Regions from separate parts of the Homo sapiens genome. Here region 2 is linked to region 1. Evidence: promoter capture Hi-C in 16 types of primary human blood cells and fetal thymus (Javierre and others, 2016). All regions are on one chromosome and are shown on one strand. Each heading gives the region's core, a stretch centred on a gene start or on the middle of the fragment in contact. The rest is flanking DNA. Distances are from core to core; before and after follow the strand shown. Region 1 holds the start of GRM5-AS1 (GRM5 antisense RNA 1). Region 2 has its middle 220 kb from the start of RAB38.

Region 1 (6,230 bases), core at 3,550-6,049:
TGATCTCATTATTCAACTTCCAATTATGAGTGAGAACATGTGGTGTTTAGTTTTCTGTTCTTGTGATAGTTTGCTGAGATGATGGTTTCCACTGTCATCCATGTCCCTGCAAAGGACATGAACTCATCCTTTTTTATGGCTGCATTGTATTCCATGTTGTACATTGCCACATTTTCTTTATCCAGTCGATGACTTTGGTTTTAATGGTTACTTTTAATTTTTTAAAATGTTTGCTTGTATTACTTTCATTTGTTCAATATTAGTTATTTGTATTGTATTTGATTTTTATTTATTTTACAACATCTTCAGTTGAATGTTTATTTTCAGTCTTCTTAAAAACATATACATTTATGATAAAACATTTTTTGAGTACTCTGGCTGTTCTATAGATTTTAATATACAGAACTGTCACCAATGTTCATTTATAAACAGGATGTGATTTTAGTTAAGTTTTTCTCTTCATTCCAGAAAGCTATCTTAAAAGAGAGATTGTAAGTGAACGTATTTCTTTTGGATAACTTTTGTTTTAAATTTAAGATTTCTTTTAGTCAGTGAATGTAGCCTGTTTAATTTTCGTTTCCTGGAATTTGTTAAAATTTTCTTCCTGGTTTAATCCAAGGTTAATATTTATGAATGTTTTAATGATGAGAAAGAGAATGTCTGTCCTCTGTTAATAGGAACAAACCTCTAAGTAGATGTGTTTGATTATTCTTGCTATTTGTGTTACTTAATTACATAGATTTTTTTTTTTCTTTTGCCTTCTTGATGTATTTGCCAGTTAAATATATTAAAGCAAGTCATTGTGATTGTGGATTTTTTTTCCTCGTGTGTTTCCAATAATCTTTGTTTATTAGGCTTTGAAGCCCTATTTTTAAGCACATATAGGTTCATCACTGTTCTACCTTCTGTGTAGATTTTTTATCAATTTTAAATATTTCTTTTAATCCTTTTAATGGCTTTTATTTTTAATTATTTCTTATTGGACATTAATATTCTTACACCTGCCTTTGTTTATCATTTGCTCCTTTAAATGCTTTGTATATATCGGAACTGGTTAACTGATGGTGCTGGTTCAGCAAATACCATCACTTAAGGACATGGTTGCATTATTCTTTTTCTGAGTGCTTCTTAACTTTCTTTAATTTATTTGGGCATTTAAGTCTGTTTGTTGGCCCTGTGGTCATCACTCACATTTTTCTTGCGCTCCTGACCTGTGCTTTGTCAATCAGAAATGGTTGTATCTTCGTCTTATTCTTTAGAATCTGACTTTTGTGCTTGTCTTTCTTTTTCTTTCATTCTATTTGTTGCTGTTGTTGTTGTTGTTTGAGACAGAGTTTCATGATCTCGGCTCAGCTAAGTTTTGTATTTTTTGTAGAGGCAGGGTTTCACCATGTGGCCAAGGCTGAACTTGAATTTCTGGGCTCAAGTAATCCGCCTGCTTTGGCCTCCCAAAGTGCTGGGATGGGTCACCCGACCAACTTTGGTCCTTTTTTGTTATAGCCATACAAAGAATAAGAAAGCATTTCCACTGGCTTCTTTCATACTGACTGGATAGAACTAGCTAGGATGTTCTCCTAATTTTGTTGCTAAGTTGTCTCGGGTTATTAGAGTGGGTACTTGTCTTCCCAAAACAAGATCTTTTTTTCTCTGTATACATTTAGATTGTTTCATTCCTCTTTGAAGAGTAAGATGAATTATTAGGGCTAATGATGGGATTTAAGCTCTTCAGAAAATATGATAGAGAGTACCACACATATAGGGAAGTAAAGGGCTAAAGTCATTATCTTAAATATGCAAGAGTAGAAATGCATTTATGTGGTATGTGTTATAGATGTGTTCATGTAGTTTTGCTCTTATGTTTTTAAGTTAGAAAGAGTTTCTAAAAATAGCTTCTGGATAATAAGCTGATAGACTTCTACTGCTTTTGAAATACATTTCACTGGTTAGGCAACATCTATTAATGCTGTATCTCACATATTGCTTCATCTGAGGCTGTTGAAGTTAAGGAAACTTAATTTCATTTGGTTCAAAACGTTTTGAACAAAAATGAAAGAACATAAATTGTAAAAGAAATCCCTCAGCTTGACCCGTGAAAGTAAAGTAAATGTGCTGACAGAGGTCTAAGAAATCAAAAAATGGGAAGAGAACAAATAATAAAATTGAGCAAGACTTCCAATGGTTCAGTAAAATGGCTCCTGAAGACAATGTTATAACTCTATCAATCTGTGTTTACTTCTCTAAAGGCCTAAGGAGATCATCATGGAAATGGCAATGAATTTTGAAAACTAAAAGAAAAAGTGTGTATAAATTATAACTTTTATATCATAGCATTTCCAAAATTCTTTTCATGAAACTCTACTCTGAGGAGACAGCTTCATTAGCAAAGTTAATGGATATTAGAATACTATAAATTGGGCCGGGCACGGTGGCTCACGCCTGTAATCCCAGCACTTTGGGAGGCCGAGGCGGGCGGATCACAAGGTCAGTAGATCGAGACCATCCTGCGAATGGTGAAACCCCGTCTCTACTAAAAATACAAAAAATTAGCCGGCGATGTGGTGGGCGCCTATAGTCCCAGCTTCTTGGGAGGCTGAGGAGGGAGAATGGTGTGAACCCGGGAGGCGGAGCTTGCAGTGAGCCGAGATCGCGCCACTGCACGCCACTGCACTCCAGCCTGGGCTACAAAGCGAGACTCCGTCTCAAAAAAAAAAAAAAAGAATACTATAAATTGGTAACTTCCGAAGTGAAGATAGCCATTTAATTTGGAATTACTACATTTTTCAAACTTTTAAGACTCTAAGAACTTTTATGAATCACCTATTACTATTCAGCAGTTCAGAAAAGCCACAATTTATTATGTGGTTTTCACGGACATAGAATTTGTATAATTTAAAATATAACATCTATCTCATCATAGAAATCTGATAGTATGAAAATTTTTATTTTTAATGTCAATGAATAAAAATACAAGCTATACATAAATAAGCCAAAGTGTCTGATATGTATATCACATAGGTATCCTGTATATAGATCATACCTCAAAGAGACTTATGTCCTGGCAAAAATAAATGTCTTTGTCCTGGTGTAACAGTAATTTAAAACATTTATTCTAGTGGAGGTTAAGTGTTCCTGGAAACTTTTGGTTCAGGATTCTAAGAGTGGCTGGAGAAGATGAGTTTAAACATTCTCTTCATAGAACTTATTTACTAACATAATAACCTAAAAGTAATAAACAGAGTGAGATGTAATAACTGATTCTGAGTTTTAAAATACTGTGAGAGAAAATGTAAATACCAAGCTTTTGCTTAAGGAGATAACTTCATTAATATAATTCTGCCTATCTATGTGCTTACCTACCTTTCTGCCTAGCTATCATACAAAGTAAATATTTGCAAATTGTTTATGTTCTAAAACTGATCATTCATGTACAGCATAACCAAAAACTTGGCCAGCATTCAGCAGCAATTATAACAGAGGAAAAGCATTCTCTCTGTGGTGTTCAATATCAATTTACTAAGTTGTCCTTGATAGACAGTTCCAAGGTTGCATATGAGTTCAAACCTCAATAGGTTTCCTCCAGGATATATGCTTTAAGTTGGACAGGAACTTGTTAAGCTCCACAAATAACATTGATATAACAAATTTAAGCTTCCTGCTGAATATTAACTGTATACTAAATACTACATTGACACTAATAATAGCTACTATTGAGCATTTATCAGGAATGTTGAAATGATAGAAACTTCACAGATTATTGTAACTCACTTCTGCATTTAAAGCAAGAGGAACAAGTTGTAGAGAAATCAGAGTGATTTATCCAAAGTCAGTTGGTGACAGGTAAGAGATCCTGGCTTTTAATTCAATGCTATTTCTATTGCATCCGCTGGTTTTAAATGGCCTTCCATAATTTGATGGAGTCTGATAAGGCTCTTTGGATTTTTAGAAGGTAATTTCCTGTACCTGGTTTGTATATGTCACTTCATCCTCAATTTTATGTGAACATATTACCATTCATATCACGTTAGAATAAAAGATACTGAAGGGAAGAGTCTGACAAAACAGATAAAATGGCTTTCTTTGTTAAGATCAAACACATTCTGTATAATATATGTATCTACATATGTATATATATCATTATGCATTTAATACAATGTCAGAAGCATAAATCAAATATATTTTTAAATATACCTTGTTTTTCTCTTCCATACATCAAGCATCTACCTTATATTCTGCTGTTAGTTTTTCACTAATTTGTGTCCAGGGAATGTATATTTGCTCAAGAATCAGTCAAAGTAAAACTTTTTTTTTTTCTGGAAAAATTATGTAATATGCACATACATCTACACACAAACACACATATACACAGAGACACATGCAGATGGACTCAAAAGTCAAATGTCTATATAAATATGTATGTTTGTAAACACACATCTATACACACACAAATAATCTATTTTATCTGTGTGATGTTACCTCTATCAACACATATAATTATGAAACTATTTCTATAATTTGTATGTCTAGATGCATAAACAATGCATATTTCCTATATATTTTTTTAAGTACTTCTTTATGTAACAGTTGTTTGTAGATGTGTTTGGGGACAACATCTCTGGTTGGTTTGTGGTTGGTTTATATTTTCATTTAAATCTATACAGTCCACTGCTTACTTTGTAAACCCCATAATTCAAATGTATAGATCATCCAGTATTCAAGATTAATTAGTATCATGGCTCTTTTCATCTCAGAAAACACTATTAAGACAACATTCTAAACATTTGAGGGGAATAATCTTAAAATCATATTATAGGTTTTTTAATTTTTTTGAAAAGTAACTGGCTTCACAAACACCAAGTACAACATGATTTAGACAACTGAGAAACAGGCAAGTATATTTTGAAGTGCTAAAATAAAACATATTTATACAAGTACAAAGCAAAACAATGCTGATAAAAATGTTAAACTTTATGAAAAAAAATCATTTGCAGTTCACATCAAAATAATTTAACATTCTCTATTATTTTAATAGTACAAGCTGCCACAACAGAGAAAGAACAGATACACGCACACAATTTTAAAACCAAATCAGTTATAAGTGCAGAAAAAAGTAAGTACAAGCACTTTTAGCCCACACAAATCTTTTAGGATTGGCACCATCTTTCTAAAACATCTATAATCTATATAGATTTCTAATTACAACACCATCAGCAGCTGCCATTGATTTCTAGAAATACACACAATATACATAGTATATTTGTTCACATTGGGAAGATCAGTGAAATTCAACCAACTATTTTATACATGCCTCATTCTTCAATAGACAGTAGAGACTCTCCCAGGCCTCAGACCCTCTTCAAAGTGAATTCTGACTTGTCTTTATGCTTTCACTGATCTGTATTTTTTCACAGTATAAAATTGTAAATGGTAACTATAGAGATTCTGACAGCTTGAGGGTTATTAATAAGCTGTTGCTAAATGTGAACTCACATAATACCTTTGAAGTCTCCAAAACATGTACATTTTACTGGGAGACTAGCATAGGAAATGCTTTTGTTTTTTGTTATTCTTAAAAAGAGCATTTAATTCCTGGCTTGGAAGTCACAGAACTGCAGCAGAGCTATTATACAATTCATTTACAGTCAGAAATAGCTCCTAGTCTTCCTGATCACTTGCTGGTAACAGCAGTAGTTTGGGAAAGATAGTTACTTTCAAGGATTAGCACGTTTGGGGATTTGCTTTTTTTCCTTGCTTCAGTCAAATCTCTTATAATTTTTCTTTCCATACTCCCTTTCTGTTCCCCATCCCTAGCCCAGAAAGACGGTTCTTCCCAATCCAGATATGTTCTTCTTAGGCTGCCCCCACTCCTTTCCCAAAATGGAAGGATGAGTGGACTGCTTAGATTAGTCAGTATAACTTGGTTAAACCACGTCTTCTTCTTTCCATCCTGGGACATATCTCTCATTTAGGGTCACTTTGCTGAGCCTTAGCATATCCCCTTCCTTTTAGTCATGCTGGTCCCGACTGAATTATCACTGGGCACCAGGAACAGATTGTTTTGAAGGAAATTCAATGAGAATGTACCCAAATGAATTGTGAAGTTCATATCCTATAGCCCTAGAATGAATATTCAGTTCTCTTTGTACTGTAGAGTTATTACTTGGAACCTGGTATTAGAATTGGCAAAGAGACAGAGTTAGCATCATTCCAAAATAAAAGATCTCAAGAATGCA
Region 2 (6,985 bases), core at 2,454-4,953, 550 kb before region 1:
TAAATATTTACTATGTGACCACCTATGTGTTAGACATTCTAGGACTGGAGGTATAATAATATACAAGCTAGATAAAGTCATTGTCCTTGTGGAGCTTACATTCTCTGGGAAGAACAATAACAAGCAAAGAAAGAGTTCGTGTGTGTGTAAAGGGGGTTGTAGGCATGCACACATGTATATCAAGTAGTGATGAATGTATAAGGAATAGGTGCTAGAGAGTGATGGGAGATACTTCAATTCTTTCCAGCTTTTTAGTCATAAAACAAGTGCCTGGATAGCAACTCTTAGCAATAGTACAGTAGTCCCCCCTTACTGGCAGTTTCACTTTCTAAGGTTTTAGCTACTTATATTTAACTGTGGTCTGAAAATAGGTGAGTACACCACAAAAATATAACTGTGCTATAATAAAATTTATGTGAATGTGGGCTCTCTTTGTCTGTCCTTTAAAATATAATTGTTTACATTATTATTATTTATTGTTAATCTGTTATTGTGTCTAATTTATAAATTGAATTTTATCAAAGGTATGTATGCATAGGAAAAAACATACTATCATGGTCTACATAGGGTTCAGTACTATCTGCGGTTTCAGGCATCCAGTGAGAGTCTTGCAACATATTACCTGAAGATAAGGGGAAACTACTGTAAATGAAAATATCTGTATTGCTTCCCCCTGAACAATACTGTATGTTTCTCTTTAAATGCTTGCCTTTTTTAGGCCCAAGATGGAATCTGTGTTTTAGTGTTTTTTTTTTTTTCCATTTACTATTTGTCAGGTTGAACAATTTCGTTAGCTATTTGTATTTATTTATTTTTGAATTTCCTATTCCTGTTTTGATGTAAATCTACAAAATTTGAACATGGAGGAAAGACATTCCAGCAGGAGGAAATGATATGAGCAAAGACACAGAGGTGGGACCCCCTAAAGTGTGCTGTGGAATGCTGTTGATCCTAGATGAGGGTGGCCATGTTCATGTAAATGTGCACACAAGCTGAGATACATAAGAACATCCAATGATTTTGAGTTAAAATGTAGTCTTGTGTCTGGTGGTTGATCAGTAGCATTGATGATTGCTAAATATTCTGGATCCCCTTCCTTTGATTGTCCTTCTTGTGAGAGGACGATGCATCCACCCTGCTGAACTCAGGGGTGAGCATGTGAACTCCTACCAATGGCATCATGGTGGGAACAACAGCCAGAACTTTGAGACTCATCACATAATTCCCCATCTCCTCTCTGTCTCTCCCTTGAGTTTGGAAATGTTCCAGATAAAGACTACTTTTTCAGCCTAAATTTCTGAATAAAGGTGACTAATTGGTCTTCAGGGAATTTGTGTGCTGTGTTGTCACAGAAAGATAGAAAAAGAAAGATTTTCTACATATTCAAGTCTCAATACCTACTGAAAGACCTGCATAAATGCACGCTAGAGAAGGAACAGCCTTGTTGAGAAATTTCTGTGCCTTATCTGAACAATTTTTCCTCAGTTTTCTGTGAGCACTCACAAAGCCACCACTAGCTTTCAGGAAGTGACCACACACCATCAAGAGGATCAGCTGCTCAGGAAGGCAGGACCAGATAAGGTATAGGCGAGCCCGGGAGCAGGCTTCAACCACAGTGGCAGGAGGAAGTGGATTTGGTGCACTGCAGAAAGCAAGGACACTTTTAGCTAAAATGTGATGGGCACCTACTGTGCTATACACATTATCTCATTAAAGACTCACCCTTTCATCTGGGATGAAAAGCATTATCCCGTGTTTATGAAAGAAGAAACAAGTGTCAGCTCCACCTCCAGAACCTGTAAAGGCAATATTCAAAATAAGCAGAGGAAAGAATTTCTGATAATTAGTAATATTGCATCATATATACTAAGTAGCGGGTTGGAGTAAATTTGGTGAAAAGATTGTTGTTGAACAGACTGCAAAAGGAGCACAGCAGAAGAAAAGAGCAGGAGCATAGTGGGAGCTGCAAAGCAGCTGTGCATGCAGTAGTGTTCACTGGCCCATGGGTGCCCCATCTGACTCCCACAAGAAGTCCATGAAAGCCACATTGGCACACACTCTTCCACATTGGTGCACTCTTCCACATGCTTTCATTTATTTTTTCCTCTTCTTGCTCTTCTCTTATTCTTTAATCCAGCAAATCCAAATTATAAAGGAAATATATTTCCTCTCTAGTCTCAAGTGAGAATATTTATCAAAATTTCAGTTCCCATTACAAAATAAAATAAGTCAACAATGGACACTGGAGGCTGCTGGAAGCGGGAGGGGTAAGCATTGAAAAACTGTTAGGTACCATGCTCACTACTAGGGTGACATGATCATCCGTATTCCAAACCTAGTATCGTGTAATATACCCACATAACGAACCTGCACATGTACTTCCTGAATCTAAAATAAAAGTTAAAATTATTTAAAGTATCAGTAGACAATATGACTTATCCTATAGACTCTTTTGTTTAACGAAGCCTAAAGCTATTGTATAAAGCCCGTAGCTAACTATAAGCCAAACTTAAATGAATAAAATAAGCACAACATTTAGCTCTTATATCTATCAATCATCTATCTATCAATCAATCTTTCTATCATCTGTCAATCATCCATTGAGCTAGGCATTCATGAGGCTTCAGATGACCCCTGTCATCCGAAAGTGAATATTTTCTATAAAATATTGGTTTTCTAGGTCACCGTTTTCACACTGTGGGGTCATGCCTCATAACTCATTAGTGAGTGATAAAATCAATATAATGGGTAGCAAACAGTATGCACACACACACACACACACACACACACACACAAGTAGGACAGAATAGAAAATATTGTATTTTCTCTTAACAAGACATGTCAAAAGAGAAAATGCAATTTTATAAAACTCTTGCTTCAGTACATTAGCAGACATAAAAAACTAAGTGCTAAACCAAAAATGTTTAAAAGTCTCCGTTCTACAGTATGGTTCATATATTTTCTGAGCTAATAAAATAATTTTTAAAAACAAACATACATACATACATGCATATACCTTGTAACTGTAAGTAAGTAAATTATTTAACTTATCTGAAAATATTTACTTGTAAGTAAATATCAACGATACAAAGTCATGATAAAGGACTATTATGAAGAATAAAATGAGAACATGTTGCACAAGTCCCTCAAACTACATCCAGCAAATAGCAAATAAATTGTAGCTATTGTTCTTATTATAAAATTACACAGAGCATAACACTAGAATCAAAAAGTTGTGAGAAGAACAAAAATATCCTTTAGTCATCTGCATTGGAGACCACTCACATGCAAGCTTAAATTCTTGGGTCCTCGCCTCTTCACTATTCTCTGCTGCAGAGATTTGCTTAGCACAGGCTTCTATCACCTGCACCATGGCCTCCCACTCCTGCCCCATGGTCTCTCAGATGCCATAGTAGGAGATGTCTGTAGAAACCAAACGGCAGGATAATTAACCCCTACGTGTCCAACCTTGTCCACTGGGGTCTGGGAACTAATTAATAATTTGTGGGAGCTCAGAACATGATATGTGAAAACATGGCACTCAGCAATTGAAAAAGCTACAGGAGCTAGAAGGTCACTCTGACCACCCCCACTTTTCTGTATAAAGCATAGTTATAAAACATTTTTTTTAATCTACCTTAACTGAAAGTAAGTCATAAGACCCGCATTCCAGAGGAGTACTGCACCAAACCTGGAGAGAAGGAATGATACACAGAGAAGCCAAGAAGAATTTGAACCTTTCAGGGCCTTTCTGGGTTCCCTCCCCCCACCTTCAGTTTATTATCATGAAGTTTCACCCTGTTTTTTGTACACTGACATTTCTACAGGACTGTCCATTCCTCATTGAACCTAAGTATAAAAATGCAGTTTTTTGGGGGGGGGTCCTTGAGTCCTCATTTCCGAACGCTCTCATGTCACATAAAACATTGTTAAATCAATTGGCTGTGCTTTTCTCTTATGAATCTGTCTATTGTTATAGCACTGTAAGTAATAACTTACAGTGGGTGAGGAAAAATATTTACTTTTTCACTCCCACAAATTGATTCCCCCTTTGTCCCTTAGGTGGTCAGTTCCAAGATTCATGTCACAAGTTTCCTTAAAAGTTCTCTCTGAATCAAGCTTCTTTGCCTGTCACAGTAGACAATGGGATCATACATATTTGGATTGCCTTTCTCTACTTCCTGCTTCTCTCCCCTCACCCCCCATAGGGGCAATAAGGTAATAACTTTTTCTCATCCGTCATAAGGGTCACGGATGACAGTCCTGTAACAAAAGACAGATTAACAGAAAAAAAAACCCATAAGTTTATTTAACCAGGGTTTTATGTGACCCCCATACCCAGGGAAAACTGTGTGCTTTTATTCTAAGTCTGATGAAAAAAGTGAAAAGTTGTGAAGAAGCATGATTGGACAAAGAAAGTAGAATCTAATAGTAATCAACTGCGAGGAGACCAAGCAAGGCCTACTTGTTCAGATTATTCTTGGGCTCTCTATGTGGCATTCCTCTCTCAGCATATGGGGCAGGAACTCTAGAACAAGACCCTCATGACCTGCTTTCAGGGAAGGTAGGCCAGAGAGTGACGTTTCTAGGTTTTATGGTTCACTTTGAGGGAGAGGAGTTCTAACTTCTATAATCTGAGGTGGGGAGAAAAATTCTTGACACATCTTGGGGGAGCGTGGGGAAAGGAAGAAGGGAGAGCATGAGAAGGTCAGAGTGACCTTTCTTCTAAGGCCTACCAATCTCCTTCCTAACGAAATACTCAGCATGCCATGACACCATATTTTGGGATATCGTGTTCTGATCCCTGATATGCTCATTTCTCTTCCCTAGAATCACTTTCCAAATATCACTTTCCAAATAAAGCACAGCTGGTCCCAGACTTACAATGATTCGACTTACGATTTTTGACTTTATGATGGTTTGAAAGCCATATGCATTCTGTAAAAACTGTACTTCAAATTTTGAATTTTGATCTCTTCCCAGGCTAGCAATATACTGTACTCTACTCTTTGTCACTGGCAGCCACTGCCCCCAGTCAGCCAAGCAATTACAAGGGCAAACAACCAGCACTCTATGGGGTTCTATGTTGTTAGATGATTTTGCCCGGCTGTAGGCCAATGTAAATGCTGTGAGCACATATAAGTAGGCTCGGCTAAGCTACAATGTTCTGTAGGTTAGGTGTATAAGATGCATTTCTTAGCTACATATTTTCAACATATGATGGGTTTATCTAGAGGTAACCCAAGTTAAGAAGCATCTACCCCTGCATGCAAGCCTCTGTCTTGGGCTCTGCTCTTAAGGAGATCCAAGCTAAGAAAGTCTCCAACCTCCTTTCTTCATACCTATCTTATTCTTTCCACTGCTAGTGTTGTTCTTAGTAATTAGAGAAAATGAACCCCAGGAAGCGAGGCTCTTAGCAATGTTATGATACACCTAGAACACTCTGGTCTCCATTTCCAGCTTCTAGTGTCTTTTGTGAGGGAAGGAAGTAGACAGCAAGAAACCTAAAGATGTCCTTGACTTTATTAATTTGGAGATTTCAGGAATCATTGTCTTTTTCTAAAAGAGAAAACTGAAAAGTATCAAAAGGAATTTTTGATGTCAAGACAAATAGGACTAGCTCCAATAATAAGCACTATTCTTGAACAGGGCATACGTTTGCCTTGTTTGTAAATACATGGCTGCATTTCTGCTCCACCAGAGTAAGTGACATATGCAAATCCTGTATAATAATCCCTTTCTAAGAAGGCTGCTTATTTGCTTTTTATGTTTGTTTCTGTAAATTGATTAGAGAGGAATTTGTTTATACCCCAAATAAGACAATAGAGAATTGTAATCATATTTCACCACAGGCCTCCAATTTCTGCCCTAGAGAATATAATGAAATGATGGAAACACCTCCTCCTTCTGCGGAACTGAAAGCTGTGCTTTAGGCTGTTGGCACAATTTCTGCCATGTACACCCCACCAATCATCAAATGGGCCCTAGGATTAAGATCCCTACCTTCAGGCTATGGGCCCATAGCTGCACAGTAATTGCAGTGTTGCTTGCAGTTGTGTTTGATAAGGAATTAATGACATGTGAAACATTCCGACGCATTTAGGATATCTCCTGCCTCATTGTGATTAAGGGAATCAAAATGCATTCTGATCTAGAATTGGAGGTAGCCTAAACCCTCCATCATTCTAAAACCTACACAGTAAGCTAAGACTATTACCTTATGTAATTTGTACTTTAGAAAATAAGGACATTGAATCTCAAAGAAGAAATAATCTTCTCAAAGTCAAATACTAAGTAGGTACAAGAACGCATATTCATACTCATATCTATCTGACTCTTCAAGACCACACTATTCCATCTCACGTTAGCATTTGTGGAATAATTCCTCTGTGCTGAGCATTGTGCTATGTGTTTCTATAAGTATCTATTTTACTAGCATCAGAATACCAACAGCTCCTGAATTTGTATAAGGTAGCTGGCCAGCCAGCTCATAGACGCATTCTCCAGCCTCCCACCAGTTATAGCCAAATATCCAGGTTCTCACCAAGGGAATATGAGCAAAAGTAATATGAGCAACTTTTGCATCACTTCTTTAAAATAAAATTACTTGTTTTCCTTTCTCTCCCTTTCTATTTTCCCTCAGGCAAGAAGCTTGACATAGCATCGATGAGCCCAAGTCAACTATATGAACAAAACAATGTCTCAGGAGGGGCAGGGTATCACGTCAGAAGAATCCTGAGTCCTTAGATGACCTTGTAGAAAAGAGCCACAAACTTACTCTGGGCTACCTTCATACCTCTGAACTATTATGCAGAGAGAAATAAATGTATTCAAATCACTGTTTTTTGGGTTTCTTCATTCATGTAGCTTAGCCTATAACCTAAGTAATGAAACTCCAGAGAACACTGTACACATTACAAAGGAAAATCTAGAGTCAATTTGCCAAAGTTTATGTAGCCTATGAGTGTCAAAGCTGGGATATGAA

What was found. The method cuts DNA at HindIII sites, captures the fragments that hold promoters and counts their contacts. A CHiCAGO score of 5 or more calls a contact.
Region 2: a fragment that was not itself captured here is called in contact with the fragment with the promoter of GRM5-AS1 in region 1 in 2 of 17 cell types (erythroblasts and activated CD4 T cells); the score reaches 6.8 in erythroblasts.

The regions. Positions count from the first base shown.
Region 1 is chr11:88,499,777-88,506,006 of GRCh38, forward strand. GRM5-AS1 (GRM5 antisense RNA 1) reads left to right here and starts at 4,800. Exons shown (of 6, transcript NR_049724.1): 1 at 4,800-6,230. GRM5 (glutamate metabotropic receptor 5) reads right to left here. Exons shown (of 10, transcript NM_001143831.3): 10 at 4,866-6,230. The HindIII fragment of the contact is 8,959 bases long and covers 3,647-6,230 here.
Region 2 is chr11:87,953,111-87,960,095 of GRCh38, forward strand. It overlaps a transcript of RAB38 not described here. Among named protein-coding and RNA genes, the nearest start is that of RAB38, 220 kb to the right of the region's middle. The HindIII fragment of the contact is 827 bases long and covers 3,291-4,117 here.